Linked DNA regions of Homo sapiens: region 2 is linked to region 1. The links are contacts of gene promoters, found by promoter capture Hi-C in human tissues and cell types (Jung and others, 2019). All regions are on one chromosome and are shown on one strand. The core of a region is centred on a gene start or on the middle of the fragment in contact, and the rest is flanking DNA. Distances in the headings are between cores, read along the strand shown. Region 1 holds the start of TSC22D3 (TSC22 domain family member 3). Region 2 overlaps MID2 (midline 2).

Evidence for each region. The method cuts DNA at HindIII sites, captures the fragments that hold promoters and counts their contacts. A contact is called where the count stands out against the background at its distance.
Region 2: a contact is called between a fragment that was not itself captured here and the fragment with the promoter of TSC22D3 in region 1, in 2 of the 25 tissues and cell types used here (heart left ventricle and hippocampus).

What each region holds. Positions count from the first base shown.
Region 1 is chrX:107,769,379-107,777,299 of GRCh38, forward strand. TSC22D3 (TSC22 domain family member 3) reads right to left here and starts at 6,409. Exons shown (of 3, transcript NM_198057.3): 1 at 5,722-6,409. The coding sequence starts at 6,041. RefSeq lists enhancers at 5,178-5,755, 5,756-6,332, 6,609-6,658 and silencers at 6,421-6,715, 6,689-6,748. The HindIII fragment of the contact is 10,233 bases long and covers 3,226-7,921 here.
Region 2 is chrX:107,907,290-107,915,210 of GRCh38, forward strand. The region is part of intron 5 of MID2 (midline 2); the gene reads left to right. The region is part of intron 3 of LOC101928335 (a long non-coding RNA gene); the gene reads right to left. Among named protein-coding and RNA genes, the nearest start is that of TEX13B, 71 kb to the right of the region's middle. The HindIII fragment of the contact is 6,811 bases long and covers 2,455-7,921 here.

The DNA.
Region 1 (7,921 bases), core at 5,159-7,658:
AATCAGACACAAAATATTGTATGATTCAATTTATATGAAATATCTAAATAGGCAAATCCATAGAGACAGAAAGTAGAATAGAGGTTACCAGGGGGTAGTGGGAGGGGAAAATAGGGAAACGGTGAGTTATTCTTTAATGGGTACAGAGTTTTTGTTTGGGATGATGACAAAATTTTGGGAATGATAATGGTTGCACAACATTGTTAATATACCTAATGCTACTGAATCGTACACTTAGAAATGGTTAAAATGGCAAATTTTATATCTATTTTACCACTATATATATATATGTACTATGTACAATATATGCATATAATACATCTCTCTCTTTCTCTTTCACACACACACACACACACACACACACACACTAGTAGATGTGGGGTAGGGCACCAGGCTCACTCATTGGTGAAAGGACCGGCCCCCACCTACTAGTCTCCTTGCACATGTGATTCACATCTGTGCCTCAGCAAAAACACAGTTTCTTACCAGTCTGAGTTCTCATGAAGTATCCAAACCATGAATGTTAAGTTTGCAAATGCATTTGTGCTTTTAATGGAGAAGGTCCCTTAATCCAAGAATGCCTATTCTTTGTCAGACCACTAGGCACTCAGGAAATAGTTATTTTAAATTACTTTGGGCTATGAAAGGACTTTTGAAGCTTGATACCAAAAGCAAAAATCACAAAGGCAAAGAATGACAGGCTTAACCACACAGAAACCCAAAACCGCTCTACAGCGAGTAACTCCATCCTCAAAATCAAATGGTAAATTAGTTGACAATGCGTTGCAATCTCTAATACAGGGTTTCTCACAGTGTGGTCTACATACCAGCGGTGCTCTGGGAGAGGAATTTTAGATGGTACATGGACAGAGAACTGAATCTTAAATAGTATGAACTTAGGCACTGCAGCAGGCAGCCACTCAAATCATGCCGTGTGAGTGGCCACCACCTCAGAAGCCAGGTCCAGGAATATACATTATGAAATTACTTGTTCTGAGACTCACTTAGAGAAGCACAAATAATTTTTTGCACAAATTTTTCTTGAAAACCTGATCTCTGAATCTATATCCTTCCCCTTTGTTACTATATTAATAGGGGATATTAAATGAATTAGCACACATAAAGCAATTAGAAATGTTTGCTATTTTTATCATTTTCTGAGCATTTATATATGGGAACCAGTTGGGGCCAGGTCAGAAGCTTAAAGGTAGAATCCTAGGGTTTTTAGAGCTGGAAGGGAAATCGGATTCAGAGTATTTCAGACCACACTAGCCAGGTACGCTCTGGGGTCAAAGGTAGAATAGAGCTGATTAAGAGGTTTTGGGTAAAATCTTAGAAAAAAATTTGAGGTTACAGCAACAGCAATCACAACGAATACTGTCAAAGCTCCTGTTACAGGTTGTTATACCTTACAGGTCAGAAAAATTAAGGAAGGCTCTTCAAATGTCAACTTGGGAAGCTTTTTCATATGCTACATTTAAATTGGAAACTTCTGCTGTTTGCCCAGAATATTCTATCTCCCTCCTAAGTTTTCCAGTATTAGAAGCATATTCAAATGACAAGGGGGAAGTCCCCTAACAACAGGGTGACCAACCATCCCAGTTTCCCTAGGACTGTTCCAGTTTGAGCACAGGCAGTCCTATGTCACAGGACTGGGATGGTTGGTTTCCCTACCTAATAAGGACATTTTGACCATTTGGAAAGGTTCTGAGCTCACATTTACCTCTGCTTCATAGACAATTCTTAAGTGTTACAAGAATTTCTTTAGCATTAGTTTAGTTACTGAGTGTTCTTAACAATTCTTTCTTCATAGACAATTCAGGCTCTGCTCTTCATTGTGAGGCATTGGGCAAGATACTTAATTTTTTCCAAGCCTCAATTTCCTTCTTTATAAAATGAAAATGGATGATAATAGTACCCATTTGGTCGGGCGCAGTGGCTCATGCCTGTAATCCCAGCACCTTGGGAGGCCGAGGCTGGTGGATCATTTGAGATCAGGAGATCGAGACCAGCCTGACTAATATGGTGAAACCCCATCTCTACGAAAAATACAAAAATTAGCCGAGTGTGGTGGCGTGCGCCTGTAGTCCCAGCTACTGAGGAGGCTGAGACAGGGGAATTGCTTGAACCCAGGAGGTGGAGACTGCAGTGAGCTGAGATCGTGCCACTGCACTCCAGCCTGGGCGACAGAACAAGACTCCGTCTCAAAATAAATAAATAAATAAACAAATAAATAAATAAATCCATTCCAAAGAGTTGATGTAAATATTAAATTAGATTATGCAGGTACATTGTGAATGTTCAAGAAGTGTTAGTTATTAATCTGTTATGGTTATTAGTTACATAATACAAGATTGAAAGGATGGTGTTTAAAATACACTTCTTCCCCAACCCAATTGTTTACAGGTACCATTTACATACCAACAGGCTGCATGCCCATTCTCACTGATTCGTATGTATATACACAGCACTATCAGGACTTCCATCAGGCTATGAGAGTTACTGCATGTGGTTAAAACGGAAGGAAAACAACTTTTAAACATTAATAAGGATTTTCTAGCACAGTATAAAGTTGTAAAATCTTTACAAGGGACCACGTCAATATTTAAGTAGTCATCCAACTGAAGAAACCTTTATTGAATATTGGCTGTATAACTAAAAGCCAAGGGAAAACCAAGCAAGTAAAACACAGCCCTACCCTCAAATTGCTTATACTCTTGTGTTCCAAGGAAACCAAGAACGAAGCTGGGAGCCAGGGACAGGTCAAAGCAGACAAACCAGATGTAAATCAAGAATGTGCCCTGCTCTTCTTCCTAAAAATATAGGAGCCCTCTTGGCAAAGGAATGGACTGCAGGAGGAGGGGTGGGAGACTAGCTTCTCCAGCAGGAGAGGCCTTGAAAGTTGACAAAGGAAAAAAGCACCCAACAGGAACCTGAAATGTCAAATCATTAAATTGAATAGAAGTAAAAACGATGGCTGAAGTATGATGATAGAAACCCAGGGAATTTAATGAAGTAACAAGGGATATGTTCACTTAGGAGAAGGCTGTCTACCCCAGATATTGGAGAAGCCCCATGACCAGCAATAATGGTCTTCTAGTTTGCTAATGAGCATGTCATACTGGGCAAAACCTAAACCGAATTCAGAATCCCCAGTCTCTAAGGTCCCAATTGTCAAGGAAAACAAGAGGGGATCAGTGGCTCATGCCTGTGATCCTGGCACTTTGGGAGGCTGAGGTGGGCAGGTCGCTTAAGCCCAGGAGTTTGAGACCAGCCTGCACAACATGGCAAGATCCCGTCCCTATAAAAAAAAAATACAAAAATTAGCTGGGCATGGTGGTGTGTGCCTGTAGTCCCAGCTACTTGGGAGGCTGAAGTGGGAGGATCGATGGAGCCCAGGAGTTTGAGGCTGCAGTGAGCTGTGATCATGCAACTGCACTCCAGCCTGGGTGACAGAGTGAGACCCTGTCTCAGGAAAAAAATAAATAAATAAAAATAAATAAAAGCAAGAGAATACTTTGTCCTCTTAGAACTATAAGACTGTTACCACAGGACCCTGTTATTCCCAGCCTTAGCGAAGCCTGAGAGCTTGCTGGTTAGCTCCTCACTGGTTTTGAACGCTGAGTGAGTTGCTCTGATCGAAGGAGGCAGGGTGCTCACACAAACCTTTCCTACAATTTGCGCTTCTCCCTCAACCAATACCTATAATGCCACCCCACTACATCTCCACCCTGTAGCATTTCCAGGCTTTGCCTAAAACCAAGAGTCAATAAACTCGTATTAGTGGAGTAGATGACAAAGGAGGTATTCCCTTTCCACAAACCCAAACAACCAGGATGCTCCCGAGGTGTGGCAGAAGGAAACACTTTGATCTCAGGCTTTTAGCCTCACACTTCCCTCACCCAGGTTTGACCCTCCTAGGGCCAGAACCAGAAGAGGCGCCCCCTCTCACACTTTCCTAAAGCCTGGAGTGGCAGTTTCTCTCCCAGTTGAACAAATGCAAATGCTACAAGCGCTCTTTCCAGGTTTTTCTACTACCCCTCCCCCACTGCCACTCTCCAACAGAGACAGGCGGGATCCTTAGGAGCCTGTTAGGGCTTTCGCTTGGCAGGATTTCAACGTCTGTGGGCTGAATACACTTGTAGTAATCTTTCACTAGAAATGAAGATTCCCTCGAAACCTTTCTGCCCGCAGCCTGGTTTATTTTATTTTATTATTTTTAAAAATTCAGCCTGGTTTATTTTAGACAATGAGATAATTTGATGCCTAAAGTGAAATAATAGATGAGAAAGGGCTTCAATGGTGTCGAAAATGCCCGAGGAATACGACTTGTTATAATAACACTAACGAGGTTAGCGGCCCTGCTTGTCTTGCCCAGAATCACTGGGGCTGGGCTGAGCGGGAGGCGATGGTGGATTTGTCTTGGGGCAAGGGAGGCAAACCTGCTCTTAGCATTAAGTGAGAATAGCGCCTGCCTTTCTCGATTGCTTTTAAAATTTCCTATTTGAGCCTGCTTGCATTCTAAATATTTTGTAGGTGCTCAGAATTTCTTATCACTTTGTCTGGGCACATCGCCTGCCTACAGCCTAGAATCTCAGAGCTAAAAGGAACCTTGGAGAGACTAGAGAGGTCAGGCGACTTGCTCAGGCTCATACAAACAGGTGAAGCCATAACTTGTACTACAACCCAGGTCTCCCACAGTGGCGATGTCTTTCTCTTACATAACCTGTGTTGTTGAGCAAGAATAAATCCTCGCTTATACACTCACACACACATGTTGGTGCCCTATCCTGATGGCGCTAAGGACACTAAATCCATGGCTGGGTTTCCTGATGTTGTCTGCCCTGCCTCTAAATTGCCTCAGTTGTTCCCAGAGACTGGTTCTTGCCAGAGTGTCTCAAACTGAAGGACAGCAGCTGCCTTGGGTCTTCCCATTGTGTTTTTTCCCTCCCTTGTCCTCTCCTTGCCTCCCCAGCAGGATTTCTAGAAAGCTTGACCGGTACACCAATACACGCCTGCAACGACATGGATTCATCCGCCCTCCTGCCACACATAGTTCTTGAGGCACTCAAGATGTCCTAGGGTGCTCTCTGGGGTTGCGCTTAGCTTACATTTGAAATTTAACGCTGTGATCCATGGAGGAGGCGAATCCCTCCCATCCAGAGGCTCAAGAAATTCTCACAAGTCTCTGATTTTTAAAAATTTTCCCCTCCCCATCTCCCTCTCCTACCACCAGCAGTTTAATTTGTCTTGACATTTTGCTTGCCCTCACTGTCAGTCAGGGGCACTCAGTAATTTTAAAGCCCTTGTAGTTTCAATCTGATTTTGCACATTTGAGATGGGCTTTTGAGAAGGGTAGAACTTGGAACTCAAGAAGACCCCATGGCAGAATCTCCAAAGGGGCTATGGAAATGTATGCATTTGAGGAGCGGGTACTTTCAGCTACCTCCAAACCATCTGGGGTCTGCCCACCTTCTAGGCCCCAGCGTCCCCATCAGAAAGCCTTTGCAGGCAGCTTTCAGAATAGGGCTTGCACCTGCCAGTCCTCCCCTCAGCTCCGCGGTACTCCAGGCAACCTCAAGGTCCAGTCACTGTAGCCTGAGTCAGACCTCCCCAGTACCCCTCCTGAACTTCCTAGTTGCCCCTTTTGCCAGAGATGAGGGTGCAGCAGAGGCTGGTGGGAGCAAGGACCGAGTTGCCGCCGTGTGCCGAGCCACCCACCTGTGGAAGAAGAGCAGGATGGAGAGCATGGTCTGGTCGATGTTGCGGTTGCAGATGCCCTCGTTGATCAGGTAGCAGGGGTCCCGCAGCACCGGCTCTAGCGAATCCTGCCGCATTATGCTGTTGAGCTTGTCGGTATTGAGGTTCTCAAAGACCAGCTTTTCCTGCAGCTGCCGAAAGTTGCTCACTGTAGGGCTGCCCGGGTTGTTGTTCTCCCCGCTGCTGCCTCGCTGGAGCCCACTCCGATGGGCCAGGTCCAGGCAGCAGTTGCAGCAGTCGAGGCCGACAGGTGAGCGGCAATCGAGCTTGGACTGGGCCATCTTCTCAGGCTCGGAGGTCGCCTGGCCTGCGAGGTCAGGGGCGGCTGGCAGGTGCGCGCCCACCGAGCTGGCCTGAGGGGACTCCAGGGTGCCTGGAAAAGACAAGCTGTGAGGAAAAGAGTTGGAAATTAGCGCCTAAAGCCAGCCACCTTCGGCTCGGCCCCCTTCTGGCTGTACTGCTCCGGGTGCGAATAGAAACAGCTGGACAAACAGCTCCGAGCGGATCCTTCGGGCTCACTTCCTCCTCTTCCTCCTTCTCCTCCCCCTCCTCTTGAGGCCGGGGGCCGCCCCCCTGAGGTGCCACACGCGGCCCCAGCGCAGTCCCAAGTTTCCCAAGTGTGAGCGGGGATTGGGGCGGACCTGTGGAGGCAGGAAGGGCGGGCAGCAGGGCAGAGGGAGAGCCAGGGCGCGCCCTTGCTCCCTCCCTCCTTTGCTCCCTCCCTCCCCGGTTTGCAGGCTCTCAGGCTCTCGGGCTCCCCTGGGCTGTGACGGCTGAGCGGTGGCAGGAGCTGAGAGCGAGTGAGCTAGTTAGCGGTCTGCACGCCCGGGAGTCAGCACTGGGATATGACAGCATGTAAATTACCCTAGAGGGGACGGCGGAGAACGGTCCTCCGCCACTTCTCCGGCTGGCGGGCGGGGGCCCCGAGCGGCTGGATCCTGTCCCTCCACCCCTCGCCCCACCCCGCCCGCACCCTTGTGCCCTGGCATCCACGCTGCCGCTCGCACCCTCGCCCGCGCTCCTGGGAGCCGGCCCGGCTCTCACTCTCTCGGCGAGCCGGACGCTTCGGTTCAGGCTCTTTCAGCGCTCATGGCGCATCCTCCGCCAGAAATACGCACGCAGCCCACCCGGGCTGCCGTGCCCCCTCAGTGGCCCGGTCTCGCGGGGCTCGAGCTCGGCGTGAGGGCAAATGTCTCTAGTCTCACCTCGAATGGGTCCCCCTACAGAAGAGACGACGCCCTCGAGAGCCCCAAGTGTTGTAGCCTTAAACTGCCGCCCTCCAAAGCCCCCCTTTTTCTGGGGGGGGGGCGTGCAAGGAGAGCGGTTGCCTCTGCAGAGAGTCAGAGAGTGCCAGGCACACATTAGGAGTACCCAATAAATGCCGTAAGCAAAACTCAGAGAAGCACGCTCAAACTCTCCTCAGTTTCTGTCTCTTTCTGCTTACTTAACGATATCGTCACCTCCTTTCCCCAGCTCGCTGTGTCCTCTCTTCCCTGAACCCCTCAGAGGCAGTCTCTGTCCCGGTTTCCCTCTGCCCCTTCGCCGTCTCTCCTCAGTCCTCCCCTTCCTTCTCTCTGCTCTTCTGCTTCCACTCATTCCACTATTTCCCTTATTTTTTCTCTTTTCTTTACCCATTTCCTCTACTTTCTCCCCCATTTCCATTCTTTTACCTTTCTTTCCTTATTTCTTTTCTCCTTTTCTCTATTTCCTCATTTCCCCTTTCTCCCCTTTCCTCTTTTCTCTCATTTTTCTCTCCCCTACCCCCGCCATTTCCCTTATTTTCCCCTCATTTCTTACTTCAGCACCCCCTCTTTTTCCTCACTTCACTTACCTTCTCCTATTTCTCCAAATTTGTTGTCCTTCTCCTTTTCTGAACCTTACCTGCCACCTTAGTTGATCTCCGTCTGTCGTTACCCTTTCAATAGATGTAGCGATTGCATGTTCACAGGCCTGAGGGGCGTGCCCCAGCTCTGTAAGATGGAGGGATGTTCTGGGTGGGCAAGTGGTGGGTTTCCAGGGTTTCTCAGGACTCAGAGACTTGGAATACTTTAAATGTGTAGGATTAAATAACGATTAGTGTCTGAAAAAACTAAACTTTTCATGACGTTCAGTTTTCACGTAAAACTGACTTACATTTCAGTCAGTACTCCCCACCCCCGCA
Region 2 (7,921 bases), core at 4,610-7,109, 140 kb after region 1:
CTTGTCATCATAATGGCTATCTCAAATCTTTTGTACTTACCTCAAAATTCCAACTCTGCCACTTTTCTGCTTATGCTCAGTAAATGCCCTCTTATTTTACAAAGAACAGTAAGTGTGAAATAGCGAATTCAACTTCTCATATCAAACTTCTGAACACACTTAGGTCCACATCCATTAACTTCTGCCTTCCTTCTGATTAAAATGGAAGAGATGTCTCTTCATTTGTGCTTTGGCCAAATACACTCTTTTTTCCATAGCTTCAATTTATCCCTCTCTATAGTTGACTTCACATCCATTTTTAACCCACTCATGTCTTTCCTACCTAAAACCAACCAAACAAAAAAACCCCATGACTTTCCTCTACTTCATATCCCCTCCAATTATCACCTGTCCCTCTCCTTCCCTGCACAGCAAACTTCGCGAAAGACTTTACATTTCTTCACCCCTAATTTACTCTTCTGAAATATTTAAAATGTATTTATATCCAAGTAATACCTTGTGCATAGTTAGAAAGTAAAATATTACTATAAGTCATATTGCAAGAAATAGCAATCTCCTCATTCTCAATGTCTGCTCTCTGATAATACCATTATCAATAGAGTTCTTACTTTGTACTGGGCATTATTTTAAGCCTTCATAAGTATTAACTCACTTAATCCTCAAAAAAACTTTATGAGGTAGATACTACTTTTATCCCCATTTTATAAATGAGAGAACGATGTTCAGAGAGGTTAAATAACTTGCTTACAATTGTCCAACTAGTAAGGGGCACAGGCAAGATTCAAATTTAGGGAGTCTAGTGCCACAGTCTACACTTTTACAACAAAGCCAAGCAATTTCAGCTCTATCAGATGTTTTTATTGGCATGACCTTACATTTCTAAATAACATCCTTACATTGGTAGTTTTAATTTTTTTCAACTTTAGACAGTATCAATTAACTTCTGCAAATTTGGACTTTTTTTCTGCCACTACTTCTACAAATATTTTTATGCCACTTCCTTCCTCTCTATTCGGGATTCCAATTACATGTATATTTGGCTGTCTGAAATTGTCCTATAGCTTACCAATGCTCTATTTTTGTTTTGCAGTCTTTTTATTTTTTTGCCATTGTGAAAACACATGCAAGTGTGTTTCATTTTGGATAGCTTCTATTGATATATCTTCAAGTTCACTAGCCTTTTCTTCTGTGATACCTAATCTGCTGTTAACCCCTCCAGTGTATTTTTTATCTTAGATATTATAACTTTCATCTCTAGTTTGATTTGGGTCTTTTAAAAAATGTCTTCCATATCTCAAGATATTCAGGCTGGGTGTGGTGGCTCACACCTTTAATCACAGCACTCTGGGAGGCTGAGGTGGGAAGATCACTTGAGACCAGCCTGGGCAACATAGCGAGATTCCATCTAAAAAAAAAAAAAAAAAAGCCTGCATCTGGTGACATGTGCCTGTAGTCCTAGCTACTTGGGAGGCTGAAGCAAGAGGATCTTCTGAGCCCAGGAGTTCAAGGGTACAGTGGGTCACGATGCTGCCACTGCACTCCAGCCTGGGCAACAGGACAATGTCTTGTCTCTGAAAACAAAAAAAGATATTTAGCCTTTCCTCTAGCTTTCTGAACATATGGAATACAGTTAAAATAATTGCTTTTATGTCCTTGCTTGCTAATTCTAATACCTGTGTCATATCTGGGTCCGTTTCAATTGGTTGCCTTTTCTTCTCATTATGGATTGTATTTTCTTGATTTTTTGCCTATCAGGTAATTTTTTACTGGATATCAGACTTGTTAATTTTCTCTTTCGGGATGCTGTATATTTTTGTATTCCTATAAATATTCTTAAACTTTGTTCTGAGACACAGTTAAGTTACTTGAAAACAGCTTGATCCTTTCAAGTCTTGGTTTTCAGATTTGATAGGTGAGATCAGAGCAATGTTTAGTCTAGAGACAATTTTTCTCCACTACTGAGGCAAAACCCTTCTGAGTACTCTATTCCAGTGTCCTGTGAGTCATGAGATTTTCCAGTTTAGCTGGTAGGAACACACACTATTGCTAGACCTATGTGAGTACCAGGGATTGTTCCCTCTTATCTTTTTGGGTGGCTCTTTCCCCAGCATTATGCAGTTTCCTCGCATGCATTTGTTGATCAGTATTCTGTTGACTACTAGAGGGAAACTCTGAAGGTCTCTAGAATTCTCTCTGCAGCTTTTTCCTCTCTGGTACTATGTCCTGTGAACTCCAGCCAACTTCGTCCACTTGGATTCTCAGCTCTGTCTCCTTAATTTTAGGGAACTCATTGGGCTCTGCCTGGATTTCCCCTTCCTGTACCACTTGATTCCCTTAAGCTTTTCAAACAAACGCTCCTGTAGTTTCTTAAGAAAGAGTACATGGGAAGTAAATTTTCAAGAACTTTTTGCCTAAAAATATTTCAAGTTAATTTTCACACTTGATAGGTTGGAAATAAATTTTGAAGGCATGACTTCATTGTCTCCTGGCTTCCATTATTGTGTTGAGACGTTCACTGCCGTTTTGAATCCAGATCTTTTGAATATAACCTATGTTTTAAAATCCAGAAGCTTAAACAAAAGTTAATATTACTTTTAATTGACAAATCATAGTTGTATACATTAATGGGTTGCAATGTGATGTTTTCATATATGCATACAATGTGGAATGACTAATCAAAGCCAATTAACATATCCATTACCTCACCATTTTTTGTGGTCAGCCATTGAGATTTACTCTTTTAGCTATTTTGAAACATACAATATGTTATTATTGATTATATTCACACTGCTGCACAACAGATCTCAGAAACTTATTCCTCCTGTCTAACTGAAACTTTATACCCTTTGTCCAACAACTCCCCATTCCCTCCTCATACCAGCCTCTAGTAACCACCATTCTACTCTCTATTTCTATGAGTTTGATTTTTTCAGATTCCACCTATGTGCGAGATCATATGGTATTTGTCTTTCTGTGCCTGGCTTATTTTACTTAGCATACATCCTCCAGGTTCATTTATGCTGTCAAGGATAACAGGATTTCCTCCAACTTCAGTGGCTGAAAGGTATTACATTATGTATCTATACCACATTTTCTTTATCCATTCATCCATTGATAGAAACTTAGGTAGATACCATATCTTGGCTATTCTGAATAATGCTTCAGTGAACATGGGAATGCAGATATTTCTTTGACATATTGATTTCAACTTCTTTGGATATATACTGACTAGTGGGATTGCTGGATCCTACAGTAGTTCTATTTTTAGTTTTTTGAGGAACCTCCATACTGTTTTTTATAATGGCTGTACTAATTTATATTCCCACCAACAATGTATAAGGGTTCCCTTTTCTCTACATCCTCACCAGCACTTATCCTTCCTCCTTTTAATAATAGCCATTACGATCTAGAAGTTTTAAAGATCTTATCTTTAACCCAGTTTTTCTGAAATTTCATCAAGATTTGCCTCTGTTATAGATTTTCCTTTCCTTTCCTTTCCTTTCCTTTCCTTTCCTTTCCTTTCCTTTCCTTTCCTTTCCTTTCCTTTCCCTCTCTCTTTCTCCCTCTCTCTCTCTTTCCTTCTTTCTTTCTTCTTGTTCTGTTGCCCAGGCTGGAGTGCAGTGGCACGATCTCAGCTCACTGCAATCTCTGCCTCCCAGATTCAAGTGATTCTTCTGCCTCAGCCTCCCTGGTAGCTGGGACTACAGGCTCACGCCATTACGCCCGGCTAATTTTGGTATTTTTAGTAGAGATGTGGTTTCACCATGTTGGCCAGGGTGGTCTCGAACTCCTGATCTCCAGTGATCTGCCCACCTTGGCCTCCCAAAGTGCTGAGATTACAGGTGTGAGCCACCGTGTCTGGCGCGTTGTGGACTTTTTGTCATTCATTTTTCCTGGGCACTCAGTGAATCTTTCTAATCTAAAGACTGGTGACCTCTAGCTCTGGGAAATGTTCTTGTATTATTTGCTAATAATTTCCTCCCCTTTATTCTTTCTCTTCTTTGTTTATGGGACTTTGATTAGTGAACTGTTGGACATCCTAGACTTTTTTTCTCTAATTTTATCTTTTCCATTTTCCATGACTTTGTCTTCTTATTTTACTAAGATACTTCCTTAATTTTTCATTAAATCCTTCTATTGAAATTTTAATTTCAGCATTCCTAATTTTATTCACAAGAGCTCATCCTTCACCTTGTTTCTTTTTTAGCATTCTGTTTTTGCTTTGTGGATACGAACTATTTGGTTTTCTTCTTGAGAATATTGTCATTTTTAAAAGTTTGCTTCTAAACCCTGCATTGTCTGGGTTTCCTCCCAGTTCCTTTTCTCTGTTAGTTTAAATTGCTGTCTTTTCCTAAATATCTGGCAAACTACTGGCTGTGTGTTTGAGTTTAAGCACTAAAAGATGACTGGAAACTCTGAGTGGATGGGAATAATTTATGGGTTGGTGAACTTTGCTATAGGATTATAAGGCGGAATGCTGGCTTTTTATTGATGGACTCCCAAGTGTCAGTTCTGTAGGTCTTTTCTCTTGGGTCAGTTTCCCTTGGATGAAATCCTCCAATCTCCTGCTTTTGATTGGAGGGGCAGCGGTGTGGAAGGTATAAGCCTGGCTGCCAGCATTCTGGGAGCCAAGGAGGGAAAAGGAGCTGAGAGTTTTAAGACTGCTTTTAGTATAATGTCAAAGATCAGCAGAAAGTAAAACTCACATATCCTGCCAGAATGAGGGAAGGGTAGTCTCTGGTTTAGTGTGCATGGATCTGTGGATCTAGTTGTTCCTCATGCAAACTTTCAACTTTCTGTGGCACTAAATCAACTTGATGTTGTTGGCTTCCTGATCTAGCTTTCTCTGGACTGTTATTGGTTACCACACATTCATCCCTTTCTAGCTTCCAAACATTTGTTGACAATCTTTTACTTGTTGGCATCTCTTTTCCATTCTCTTTGTCTTTGTGGGTTTATGACATTTCATTCTTTGACTGTTATTTCAGTGAGATTTCATGAAAGCAAAAATAAAACATATATTCAAACCACTGTATTTAATAATCTCTGCTCTCCAACCCTCTGAAATGTTTTGTCCCACTACCACACCATTGAAAGTATTCTTTTCAAGGTCATCAAATGAATACCTTGTTGCTAAATATAATAGACACCCCTTTGTTTCATCTTACTTGATCTCTCAGTAGCATTTGTCCTCCTGAACATTTTTACTTGAAATTTCTCTGCCCTTACCTTCCATGAACACTCCTGGTTTTCTTCCTACTTTGTTGTTTTTGTTTTGTTTTGCCTTTGTGAGCAATGTTTCCTTGGCCTATTCCTTTAATGCTATTGTTCTTTGTGATTGTGTCTTAGGTTATTCTCTTCTCTCATTACACGTTCTCCTTGTTGCAAACTCATTGGTTCCTAGGGCTTCAATTACCATCTAGATGGTTATGATTCCCAACTCTTTATCTGAATCTTCTTTGCATAGGCTCAGGTATAACCTGAGGTGTAGGTGGAATAGATGACTATCTATGTAGTATGACTTGAGAATCATCTACTCACCTTCAATACTGGTCTCCCACAGGGTCTGAAATTTTCCCCCACCATTATGCATTGTATTGTGTTAAGCCACCATGACTTCAGTTAAAATGAAATTTTAGCTGGGAGAGATATGCCTTTCCCCTTACAAATGACACCTTATATTATGTGCAATAGAAACCAAGGCCTTGAGAGACTGCAACAAGATCGCTAATGTTGTGTTTTGCTTAAATAAAAAAACACAGACAGTCAGATACACACACACACACACCCCACCATGTCACTTTTAACCCATTCTTAACCTTTGGTCCATCATTAACATTTAGGAATATGGTATTCTAATATTTCTATTTAGATATATTTCACAAACATGATATGCTATATATACTATATTATACTCTACATTTGAAACAATGTATCACAAACTTTTCTCTATATCATTGGATATTATAAAACCTGATTTCCAATTGCTTCATGTTATTTTATCTTTTGATGTATAGTACATTACTTAACTCAGTCTCCACTGTTAGACAATCAGGCTACATATGGTGTGTTGAGTGCCCTTGTAGTTCTATCTTTGCATACATCTCAATTATTTCCATAATAAAAATTTTATGAAATAGAACTGTGGTGTCAAAGAAGACTTATATTTTAAGCTATTTTGAAATTTAATGCTAATTTGGCCTTCAAAATATGTATCAATTTCAATCCTAATACAAATATGTAGGCATTATTGACTATAGGCATAAAAGCTCCTATGCTGTCATTTGTTTGTAATTTAAACGCTATCTCATTTTAATTTACATTTCTTTGATTTCTCATAAAGTTGGACTTTTTAAATATATTTATTGGCCATTTGTTTGCTTTGACTTTGTTTTCTTTGATGCTTTGTGAATTAACCCTTTTTGTTTTGTTTGTTTACACTCATGCTTATTCCAAGACACTTTAAAATCTGGTCTCTTTGCCTCCAATTTTGACCCTTTCCAATCCCTCCACTGAAGCCATAGTAGTATTCCTGAAACATGAATTTCAGCATATTATTTCCCCACCTAATGCTTAGTGACCCCCATCGTTCTTAAGATAAAATCCAACGTTTGTAACGTGGCCTACAAAGTCCTGCATGATTTTGTCTCATTCTCCAGGCTTCAAACAAGAGAGAACACACACACATCCACATAGTCTTTGCTTAGTTAACTCTTACTCATTACATAGGTCATTGGTGAAAATCGACTTCCACATGGGAGATTTCCCTTAGCTCCCAAGTCTCTTTAGATAACTCCTGTGTATGCTCTACTCCCTTTGTAGCAGCACTTCTATTGCCCACGTAATGTCTTTCTCCTTCATGATGTGTGAGCTCTTGAAGGCAAGAACCACAGCAAAGCTTGTTCACTTTGTGTATCTCCAGTGCCCAGTACAGTGCCTGGCACATTAGTTGTGCTTAATAAGTATTGGATAGATGGATGGAGGAAATAAAGAAGATTGGAGAGGCCAGAAAGAAATTCCATGAGCTAATTTTCTAGATTAACTGTTATCCTAAAGAAGTTGTTGTCTCCTTACTCACCAAATCCTGGCTATTCATGTGAGACCTTATGATTGTACTGAGCTAGTCTTTCATTTGGCCTGTAGTTTATCACTGAAACATCTCTATTTTCAGAAACAATAAGAGGTGTTGTTGGTAGATGTATAGCAGGGTATATGTACATGAGGATATGTATTTTTCAGTTTCCCATTCCCTTACAACTAGTTCACCATAAAAGTTTCCTCTCTGGTCTTCCTACATTCAATGCCTTTTCTCTCTCCTCTAACCTACATATTATTGCCAAGTGAATTTTTCTTTCCTCACCATCATTTACATGTTCAAGGATCTCATTGGCTCTGATTTAGAAGATCTTGCACAGGACTAAAACATGTATATTTTGGCAAAAGCTCCTCCAGATAATCCTGATGTGTAGCGATGGCTAAAAATTGCTGAAATATATAAAATATACCTCAATTTTTTGAAGAAAAGAACAGTCTAAATGGTTAAGGTTATAGAATTTAGAATCAGATGGACATGGGCTCAATTATATTTCTGACTCTTACTGGTTGTGTGATCTTGGACAAGTTACTTAGCATTTTAATGTGCCAACTTTCTCATTCGCAAAATGGAAATAACATCTACTACATAGTGTTATGGTAAAGAGTAAATTAGATAGTGTATGTAAAGTGAATGCACAGAGCATTGTATATACTAAGCACCCAATAAATGTTAGCAGTTATTTTGTTGTTAGTCATTCAATTGTTCATTCAACAATTATTTTTTCACTATGTGTCAAATGCTGTGTTAGGGCCATGGAAGATATTAAGAGGTACAAAATATGAACCCTGCTCTTGAGACTCCTAGATTTAGTTGGGAAGATAAAAC